2 separate regions of the Homo sapiens genome follow, and region 2 is linked to region 1. The links are contacts of gene promoters, found by promoter capture Hi-C in human tissues and cell types (Jung and others, 2019). All regions are on one chromosome and are shown on one strand. The core of a region is centred on a gene start or on the middle of the fragment in contact, and the rest is flanking DNA. Distances in the headings are between cores, read along the strand shown.

The links. The method cuts DNA at HindIII sites, captures the fragments that hold promoters and counts their contacts. A contact is called where the count stands out against the background at its distance.
Region 2: a fragment that was not itself captured here is called in contact with the fragment with the promoter of FAM222A in region 1 in 2 of the 25 tissues and cell types used here (IMR-90 fibroblasts and neural progenitor cells).

Annotation. Positions count from the first base shown.
Region 1 is chr12:109,711,440-109,716,494 of GRCh38, forward strand. It overlaps FAM222A (family with sequence similarity 222 member A), which reads left to right and starts at 2,386. Exons shown (of 3, transcript NM_032829.3): 1 at 2,386-3,458. RefSeq lists an enhancer at 848-1,411 and silencers at 2,117-2,446, 2,477-2,526. The HindIII fragment of the contact is 9,746 bases long and covers 1-5,055 here.
Region 2 is chr12:109,866,125-109,871,571 of GRCh38, forward strand. All of the region lies in intron 1 of GLTP (glycolipid transfer protein), which reads right to left. It also overlaps the pseudogene RN7SL441P. Among named protein-coding and RNA genes, the nearest start is that of GLTP, 12 kb to the right of the region's middle. The HindIII fragment of the contact is 8,954 bases long and covers 1-5,447 here.

The sequences.
Region 1 (5,055 bases), core at 1,136-3,635:
GCCTTGGAGCCTGCTGCTGTCGGAAATTCCACCATGAGCACATCGTGGACTCATAGAACTTCAGAGATGGAGGGGTCTTTTGAGATCTTCTCGACCTGGGGTTGTCAGCCCTGGCTGTATCAGGAACCACATAGGAGCTTTGGAAACTGCTGTCCCACCAAGGAGAGTCTGATTGGTAGGGCTGGGGTTTGGGTCCTACCCTCCATTTCATGGCAGGGGAAACTGAGGTCCAGAGAAGAGAAGAAACTCCCCTCAAGGTTGCACACGGTCAGACAGTGGCTGCCACAAGGTGCAATAAATCAACGTCAGGGCTCTGGACTTTGGTTCTGTCATTTGTGTGACCTTGGGTAAGTCATGTGGCCTTCCTCTGCTGTAGGATGTGCATAGTGATCGTATATACCTTATAGGGTTTCTGCGAGGGTAAAAGGAGTTATGTGAGATAAATAGCAGTGAGCCCATGCCTGACACACAGTAGGTGTGAAGTCATGGTGACCTACAATGAAAAAAATCCCAAACTTTTGACAGGCTGTGGTGCGAACTGCTGCCTTCTTCTCCTCTTCGCGATCTCTCTCATTTCCCAGGGTTTGCTTGTTACTGTCCCTCGCCCTGTCCTCAGCTGAAGTCTGGTCTCCCCACCTGTCCACACGCTGGGTCCACCCATCCAGTCGCCCCGGCCGCCCTCCCTGACGTCCCCGCAGCCCTGGCTGCTGGCCCGAGCGGGAAGCAGCTGGAGGCATAACACATTTCCAGGTAAATCCCCACCCCCACCTTCAGCCTGGGGAGGGAAGGGGAGGAGATGGGGGCGGCCGCGGAGAAATAGAGCGGAGCTGCTGGGAACAGCGCGCCGAGCAGCCGCTTAGAGGCCTGAAACAGGGCCAGCTCCTGTCCTAGATAAGGCGGCGGGTGACCCACTTGGGCCGGCCCTGGAGGTCCGCCGCGGGCGCCTCTCCCGGCGGGGTGGGTTGGCTCCTGGAAGTAGGCTAGGGCCCGTCTATAATCAGCCCGTCCGCTGGATACGCTCCCCAGGGTCTCCAAAGCCCTCCAGCCCGGGTGAGTACAGAGGGCATTTATTGAGCACTTAATGTGTGTTTTGAGTCCTTTACATGCAAGAATTCATTTTGCCCTCAAATCTACGCTGTAAGGTAGGAATTATGATGCCCCCCATTTCACAGACAAGAAACTGAGGCGCAGACCCGTGAAGGTAAATGGCCAAGACCAACAACCAGCAAGGGCAGGGCTGCAATCCCACCCAGTTTCGGTGGGACTCCAGGTATCACACGGGCATAGCCTGAGGGGTGGGGGGTCTGACTGCTGCTCTGCATTTCTGTGGGGATCTTTGTTATTATCCCGGAAAGCTGGCTTCCTACAGTGCTGTGTGATGGACACACAGCAACTGAGGGAACTGCCCCACCCAGGACTCAATTTCCCCATCTGTAAATGAGACTGCTAGACGGGCCGCCCATGGGCTGTGAGAACCCAGGAAGCTTCTTTAAAAGTAAAAGGGAAAGCACAGTATAGTTTGATAGATTCATATTTGAACCCCAGGTTGATGTGAAACTATGCCTCAGTTTCCCTATCTATTAAGTGGGGGAGTAGGCTAGTGCCTGTCTCCTGTGGGCGTGGGGTACGTCTAGAAGGTGTAGCTTGCAAATTGCTCAGCGCTGTGCTGGGTTATATAGTTAGCGCTCCACAGATCACAACTGTGATGCCAAAAACACATCGCTGCCAAAAATAAGCCTTAGGACAAAAACATCCAGGACCATGTCACTTCACATCTCCTTACCTCAGTTTCCTCTGTAAGTTGGAAGTATAATAATAGTACCTACCGTATCAGTTTTCTCATCTGTAAAATGGGGGTGATAGTAATACCCACTCACACGGTGTTGTGAGGATTAGATAAAATACTTTGCTACATAAGTGTTAGCTATAGTTGTTATTTTTAACAAATTCCTCATGAGGTTGGTTTTTGCCAAGATTAAATGAAATAATGCCGATAATGCACTTATACAGTGCCTTGTCCCAAATATGTGATCAGTAAATGACACTGGTTTTGCCACCCCTAGTGGGACTACAAAAACCAGCACGCCCTGCGCCCCCAGTCGGGGCCCCTCCACCCGGCGCCGGCGCGCAGCATGCCGGGAGTTGCAGTCCTCGCGAGGCAAGTTCCGCCTCGTCCCTGCTTGGGGGAGGAGGTTGGAGAGCCGCCCTGCCGGCCTTTGAATTTTGCCGCGAAAAGCGCGCGTGGCGGCCCCCGGCTCCGCCCCTCGCAGGACGCGGTGCCGCGTCACCCTGGTAACCGCCTCTCAGCCGCCGCTGATTGGGCTGGGCCGCGGGGGGCGGGCGGGGGACGAGACGCGGGGGCTGCTGCCGGCGCTCGCGCCTGTCAGTCGGGCCAGAGCGGAGCAGCGGGCAGGACTGCCTGGCCGGCTGCTCCGCGGAGAGGCTGCGCGCGCCGGCCGGGGGAGGCGGACAGCCGGGCCCGGCGCCTGTGGGGCGCGGCGCGCGGCACCCGGGCCTGAGACCAGGCGAGGCGCCGGCGCGCGCCAGACGGCGCGAGGCTGCGGCCCCGGGAGCCCCCGCGCGCCGCCCGGGGCCATGGGCGCGTGAGAGCCCAGCGCGCGCGGCCCCTGCTGCGGCTTGCGAGCTCGCACACCCGGTGCACAGTCCCCCGGGCCGTCCTCGTGTCCGTCCTGCGCCACTGGGATCGGCTGTTTCTCAGCGCCGAGGCCCCCGAGGCTGCATCCGAGCTTGCGTCGCCCGCTGCCGCCGCCGCCGCCGCTGCCGCCGCCGCTGTTCGCCGGCTTCCCCTCCCCCCACACCCGGGGCTCAGAGCAGGAGGAGGAGGGGCCGGTGCATTCTCGCCGCTGTTCTTTGCAACCTGCAGGGGCCGGTGTATGTCCGGCGAGGAGCCGGGGCCGCTGCGGGTGCGTGCAACCCCCGAAGGAGACAATCCCTCCACCTCGGGGCGAACCCGGGGGCTGCAAGCCGCGGGCGGGCGGGCGAGCGAGAGGAAGCAACAAAGACAGGCTGCAGCTGGGGCTGGCGAAAGGGGCCGCGGCCGCCGGGCTCCCAGCGCGGGCGGAGAGGGCGCCCTGGGAGCGGCGCGGGCCGAGCTGCAGCCTTGAGCGGGGCCCCGAGGGGAGGCGCAGCGCCGCCCGCCGGACGTGGCGATCACGGGCCCCGGCGAAGATGCGTCGCCTGAGCGCCCGCGCGGCCCCCGTCCGGGGCGGGCGTGACCCCTGCTGAACGGAGACCTCCCCTCCCCCCCGACTTCGGACGGCGCAGGCCGGCGCCAGGATAGCCCTCACCGACAGCGCCCCTTCCCACCCGGAGAGAGGCATCGACCCCCAAGGAGGGCTTCGTCAGGCAGCCTCTGCCACTCCTGCATGGCTGCGACCCGTCGAGCGGAGCGTCGTGGTAGCTGAGACCTGGTGCCCTTCGACGGCCTGGCTGATCCGGTGAGTTGTGCGGGGCGGGGTTCTGCGCTGGAGCTGGGGGCACCCCCTGGCGTCCGGGCAGCCAGGATTGGACAGAAGGGGTCCTAGGCTGTTGGGGGTCCTGAAGCAGAGATAACCCTTGTCCGCCCCTTTCCTCCCTCCAAACACAACTTGTTCAGATGGGCCAGCCGATGGGAGTGGAGGTTGGGGGGCCCATTCGGATTCCGCGGGACCCTGGGCGGGTTGGTTGCCAGAGAGGAAAGGTCACCCCACCCGTAAAGCTAACAAAGGTATTGGCTGTGTCATCCGAAAATTCCCCGGGAACTCCAGTGTCTTGGAAGGGCTGGGGGGTGGGGGGCACCCAGGATGGGAAAACGTTGAGGGTCTCCCGAGCAGCCTCTGAGATCTTCAAGGGAAATCACCTCAGAGGGGGATTTGGGGTTCCAGAAACGCAGGTGGCCACGTTTGAGAATTGTGCCCCATGGGGCTAGACCTTAGAGCCCTCGTTCAAACCACGTTCCCACAAATAACTCGCAGGGACGGTAGGTTCCCCAGTGGGGGCACGACATGACGTCAAACCTTAGCCTCTGATGTCACTGGGGTTGCCGTGGCAACACCACTTGCCTTGACCCAAGGCCGGAGGGGGCGGGGTCGTGGTAACAAGGGGCGGGGCTGGATGCCTTTGGGTAGTGGAGGGGTGAAGGCGGACTCCCCCCACCCCTACCATTGCAGTCCTCTGACCTAAATCCTTAGCGCCCCATAAGGTGGGGGAGGGAGGCAGTGCCAGCTGTCCCTGTTGATGCTCCTCCCCGCAAGGACAGGTGTTCAGAGCTTTGCCCATGTAGCCTGGCCTGTGCCTCGGGGCTCAGGCCTCCCAGACAGAGCAACTTTCTGTTTTGAAAAGAGATGCTATAGAAGAGACCTCCCTGAACCCCACCATGTACCCAGCTGGCAGGCTGAAGTTCCCAGGGTCCCCAGAGAGATGTGGGCCTCCGGCCCTCCAATAGGCTACTTCTGCTGGGGAAAATGTGGGTGCCCCTCCCCCAGCCAAGGAAGGTGCAGAGGAGCTGCTGCCTGCTGCACCCCTAGTCCAGGGGCTCCCCATGCTGTTCTACCCCAAGGTCAGGGGCCTTGGCCAACCTGGAACTCCTGATTGCCCCCTGCTCCTTCTGGTGTTTAAGAGGATTTCAACGAGCATATTGTGAGGCTGCTTAAGTGAATGGCGGGCAAGTGAGGCCCATCAGTGCCAAGGTCTGAATAAACTGTGTCTCTGTCAGGGCACCCCCAACCAACACACACCCCAGTACTGGCACGCTTCCCTGCAAAGGCCCAGAGAACCCCCAGCAAGCATCCTGCTGCTGGCTCTGGGATTCGTCTAGGTCCCTTCCAGCAATTATTGCCAGTGTCGGGTGCTGGTGAAACTGCTGTGATCACATTTCTAGGAAAAGGTTCGAAAACTGTCATTGCCTCAGCAGCGTGGGGCGGGGTAAGAGCAGAGAAAGTGTGTGTTCGGGTCATTAGGAGAAGCCAGGCCCCAGTCTATGCAGCGAGCATTTTCCCTGCTCTTCTACCAAGCTCTCTAGCTAGATTAACAGGTCAATAAATATCGGTGGAGCTG
Region 2 (5,447 bases), core at 2,360-4,859, 160 kb after region 1:
ACAATGGGCAATTCACAATAGAAATGAAAAGATGCTTAATCTCAATAATAACAAAAAAAAAGTGAAATATTTTCCATCTACCATTTTTTAAAAAAAGAGTCTTGCTATATTGCGCAGGCTGGAGTGCAGTGGCCATTCACAGGTGCAATCCCTCTACTGATTAGCATGGGAATTTTGACCTGCTGTTTCTGACCTGGGCCAGTTCACACCTCTTTAAGCAACCTGGTGGTCCTCTTTGCCAGGAGGTCACCATATTGATGCCAAACTTAGTGCAGACACCCAATCAGTGTAGCACACTACAGCCAAGAACTCTTGGGCTCAAGTGATCTTCCTGCCTCAGCTTCCTGAGTACCTGGGACTACAGGTGTGCACCACTGTGCCTGGCTCTCAAATATGAATATACCATCAGCATTCTAGTTCAGCCATCCTGGATGGAACTCATCAAAATGTAACACAAATGTCACTGCTTTCATAGTGGAAGCCATTCGTAGCTTTCTGAACAGGGCCATCATCAAAAATACGAGTTATGATAAAGATGTAGCCCAGAAATGTCACTGGTCCCCTCAAACCGTCACTAAATGACTCTGGATGGTGTGCCTTTAGGCTTTTAGGACAACTAGACAGCTTTGTGTATCTTTTTTTTTTTTTTTTTTGAGACAGGGTATCACTGTGTTGCCCAGGCTGGAATGCAGTGGCACAATCATGGCTCATTGTAGTCTGGAACTCCTGGTCTCAAGCAATCCTCCCACCTCAGCCTCCAGAGTAGTTGGGACTACAGATGTGCACCACCATGCTGGGCTAATTTTTTTTTTTTTTTTTTTTTTACCTTTTGTAGAGACTGGGACTCACTATACCATTGCCCAGGCTGGTCTTGAACTCCTGGGCTCAAGCAATCCTCTAGCCTCGGCCTCCCAAAGTGCTAGGATTACAGGCATGAGCCACTGTACCTGGCCAACTTTGTGTATTTTTTTAAAACTCCTGTTGATGGTTGACAGCTACTTCTTCCTGCAGTGCTTCAATTATTTATTATTCTTTTTTTTTTGAGACAGAGTCTCACTCTATAGCCCAAGCCGGAGTGCAGTGGAGCAATCTCGGCTCACTGCAACCTCCGCCTCCCGAGCTTAAGCAATTCTCGTGCCTCAGCCTCCCGAGTAGCTGGGACTACAGGCGCACGCCACCATGCCAGGCCAATTTTTTGTATTTTAGTAGAGACAGGGTTTCACCATGTTGCCCAGGGTGGTCTCAAACTCCTGAGCTCAAGCGATCCACCCACCTCGGCTTCCCAAAGTGCTGGAATTACAGGCGTGAGCTACCGTGCCCAGCCAAATTCTTATAGATACTTAAATACCAAATAGCCACCAGAATCAGAATCTCCTGCAAAGAGAAGGTATGCACCAATGAGGGGTTTCATGCATGGCCTCTGGGACAATTCTGACTAGACAAGGGCTATCTGGGGCCTCCTGCCTGGATCTCTGCCACAGTTCAGATGGGTGACATTGCCCAGAAAGCAGAATTCCCTGTAAGCCAGCAGTGACCATATGCTACACAGAATCACACTAATTTCTCTTTTTTCTTTTGAGATGGGGTCTCATTGTATCACCAAGGATGGGGTATAGTGGCACAATCACAGCTCACTGCAGCTTTTTCTTTTCTCTTTTTTTTTTTTTTTTTGAGACGGAGTCTCGCTCTGTCGCCCAGGCTGGAGTGCACTGACACGATCTCAGCTCACTGCAAGCTCCGCCTTCTGGGTTCACGCCATTCTCCTGCCTCAGCTTCCTGAGTAGCTGGGACTACAGGTGCCCGCCACCACGCCTGGCTAATTTTTTGTATTTTTAGTAGAGACAGGGTTTCACCGTGTTAGCCAGGATGGTCGCGATCTCCTGACCTCGTGATCCACCCGCTTTGGCCTCCCAAAGTGCTGGGATTACAGGCGTGAGCCACCGCGCCTGGCCTCACTGCAGCTTTGACCTCCGAGGCTCAAGTGATCCTCCAGCCTCAGTCTCTGGAGTAGCTGAGACTACAGACACATGTCACTACGACCAGCTAATTTTTTGTTTTTAATTTTTTGTAGAGATGGGGACTCACTTTGTTGCCCAGGCTGGTCTTGAACTCCTAGCCACAAGTGATCCTCCCGCCTTGGCCTCCCAAAGCACTGGAATTACAGGCAGGAGCCACTGTACCCGACCTCATTTCCTCTTTTTCTGGCCTCAAGAGAGTTGGACAGTACTGGTCGTTATGCTCTTAGCAAGACCACAGCATATACCTGGAAGTTGCCATCCAAGCTGCCCCTCCATGCCTGCCTCTTCAAACAGCCATCTCTTACAACATGGGATGTTCCTGACATTGAGTAACAAGGTGACCAAATTGCCCTGCCCTGGCCTACCCTCTCGTTTCATCTCAAGAACAATGTTCAGGGAAAAAAAAGGACTCTTAAAGATGCACAGCTTGCTTCACTTTCAGCCTGTGTGATTCAGGACAGAACACACCTAACCCAATTCATAAACAGTCATTTCCAGAAAGGAAGAACAGGATGCCCGTGTCGTGATGCTACAAGCCTGGTGTGGGGAGGTTCTATTGCAAATTCAATGGTTTTTTTCATAGCTGGATAATAAAGTTCAGTTGTTAAACACATGAGGCAGATTAACTTTATAGGTCTTGGGTTACAAGGATCATAATGGAAGACACTCAAATTACAGCTGATGGAGATGAATCATTTATTAATCTGGGGGTGCGGGTTGTCATGGCTCTGCTTACTATAAGGCCTATTTTTAAGGATACGAGCCTTGAGATTACCTACATTTCTAAAACAGGTTCCTGCTCTGAGTCTACTACCTAAAGAGGAAAGAATGTTTACAAAACAATTCAAAATACTTCTTTAAAAACTTCACCCCCGGGCCAGGCACAGTGGCTTACTCCTGTAATCCCAGCACTTTGGGAGGCCAAGGCGGGTGGATCACTTGAGGCCAGGAGTTCAAAATTAGCCTGGCCAACATAGTGTGAACCCGTTTCTACTAAAAATACAAAAATGAGTCGGGCATGGTGGTGCACGTCTGTAATCCAAGTTTCTCAGGAGGCTGAGGCAGGAGAATCACTTGAACCCAGGATGGGGAGGTTGCAGTGAGCCAAGATTGATTGCGCCACTGCAATCCAGCCTGGGCGACAGAGTAAGGCTCTACCTCAAAAAAAAAAAAAAAAAGAAAGAAAGAAAGAAAGAAAGAGAAAGAAAAAAAGAAAAACTTCACCCTCATGACATGCCAACTATTTGTCCTATAATTGCTCCCGGTTCAGGAAAAAACAGTCTTGAACTAAGAATGATGCAGTTGGGAAAATTCTTTTTTTTTTTTTTTTTTGAGACGGAGTCTCACTCTGTCGCCAGGCTGGAGTGCAGTGGCCTGATCTCGGCTCACTGCAATCTCCAACTTCCAGGTTCAAGCGATTCCCCAGCCTCAGCCTCCCGAGTATCTGAGACTATAGGCAAGCACCACCACACCCAGCTAATTTTTTTTTTTTTGTTTTTTTGTATTTTAGTAGAGACAGGGTTTCACCATGTTGGCCAGGATGGTCTTGATCTCCTGACCTTGTGATCCGCCTGCCTCGGCCTCCCAAAGTGCTGGGATTACAGGTGTGAGCCACCACACTCAACTGGGAAAACTATTATCATTATTTTGAGACTCTCACTCTGTTGCCCAGGCTGGAGTGCAGTGGCGCGATCTCGGCTCACTGCAACCTCCACCTCCCAGGTTCGCACCATTCTCCTGCCTCAGCCTCCTGAGTAGCTTGTGCCACCATGCCTGGCTAATTTTTGTATTTTTAAAAGAGACAAGGTTTCACCATATCTCGAACTTCTGACCTCAAGAGATCTGCCTGCCTGGGCCTCCCAAAGTGCTGGGGTTACAGGCATGAGCCACCGCACTCGGCAAGTTTCCTCATTTTTAAAATGAGGCTCATAATGGACCCTTCTTCAAAGGGTTGCTGTGAGGCTTAAATAAAGTTGTATAAATAAAGGCCTAAGCACAGTTTCTGGTACCTAGTAAGTGCTCAGTGAAAAAGAAGGTATTAGGCTGGGCACCATGGCTCAGGCCTGTAATCCCAGCACTTTGGGAGGCTGTAGCGGACAAATCACCTGAGGTCAGGAGTTCAAGACCAGCCTGGCCAACATGGTGAAACCCCATCTCTACTAAAAATACAAAAATTAACTGGGTGTGGTGGTGTGTGCCTATAATTCCAGCTACTTGGGAGGCTGAGGTAAGATAATTGCTTGAACCTAGGGGGAGGGTGGAGGTTGCAGTGAGCCGAGATCATGCCACTGCACTCCAGCCTTGGTGACAGAGCAAGACTCTGTCTCAAAAATAAAATAAAATAAAATAAAATAAAATAAAAAGAAGGTATTATCATTTATGCTTATTATTATAAATTATATCATCATCACCTTTCCCAACAGACAAAGCTTTTCTTTAGAGAGGAAATCCAGAAAACAATTATTCCAATGATTAAGAAATCAAAGCAGAAGGAGAGGAAGGAAGGGAGGAGGGAGAAAAAGAATTATTGACTCATTGATTGATTGTTAGGGGTAAAATTAGCAGAAATCTCCCCATCATAAAATAATGACTTCAAATGTATTCCAGACCATTAAGACAGAGATCTCAGAAGGGAGTGAAGTAAGGAACTTGGAGGAACAGCAAGGCAGAAAATGAATCATTTCTGAACACAGGGGAAGTGTGAGTCGACTGCCTAACTGCCAGGGTGGAAAGCAGAGGCTTCTAGAAGACCCTGGAGAGGGCTGATCCACTGCAATGACTTTGAAAAGCTCAGATACAGTTAACACTCTAGCAAGAACCACAAAAAAGGCCTCCATATAAGTACCACTGTAAGTACGTAATAAAAGGAGTTAACATTCACTCTGGCAGGTTTTTACTGAAACAATGAAACCTAAGACTAGGACCCAACATTTCCATTCTTTTTTTTTTTTTTTTTTTTTTCTGAGACGGACTCTCGCTCTGTCCCAGGCTGGAGTAGTGGCGTGATCTCGACTCACTGTAACCTCCGCCTCCTGGGTCAAGCGATTCTCCTGCCTCAGCCTTCAGAGTAGCTGGGATTACAGGATTGCGCCACCACACCTGGCCAATTTTTTTTTGTATTTTTAGTAGAGACAGGGTTTTACCATGTTGGCCAGGCTGGTCTCAAACTCCTGACCTCGTGATCTACCCGCTTCGGCCCCCCAAAGTGTTGGGATTACAGGCATGAGCCACTGCGCCCGGCCCCAATATTTCCATTCTAAGAAGCTCATTGAAATAATCACATTGTCATGCCAGCCGGGAACTTCCTATCATTTCCCCTCCTCCCCTACAAGGGACATTTCTGCCCTAGAGACGACTTCCAACGTCTTCCTGTTTCCTGATGTGGTGTTGGTCTCCCCTGTTACAGGGCTAGACCTGCTGTAAAGTCCT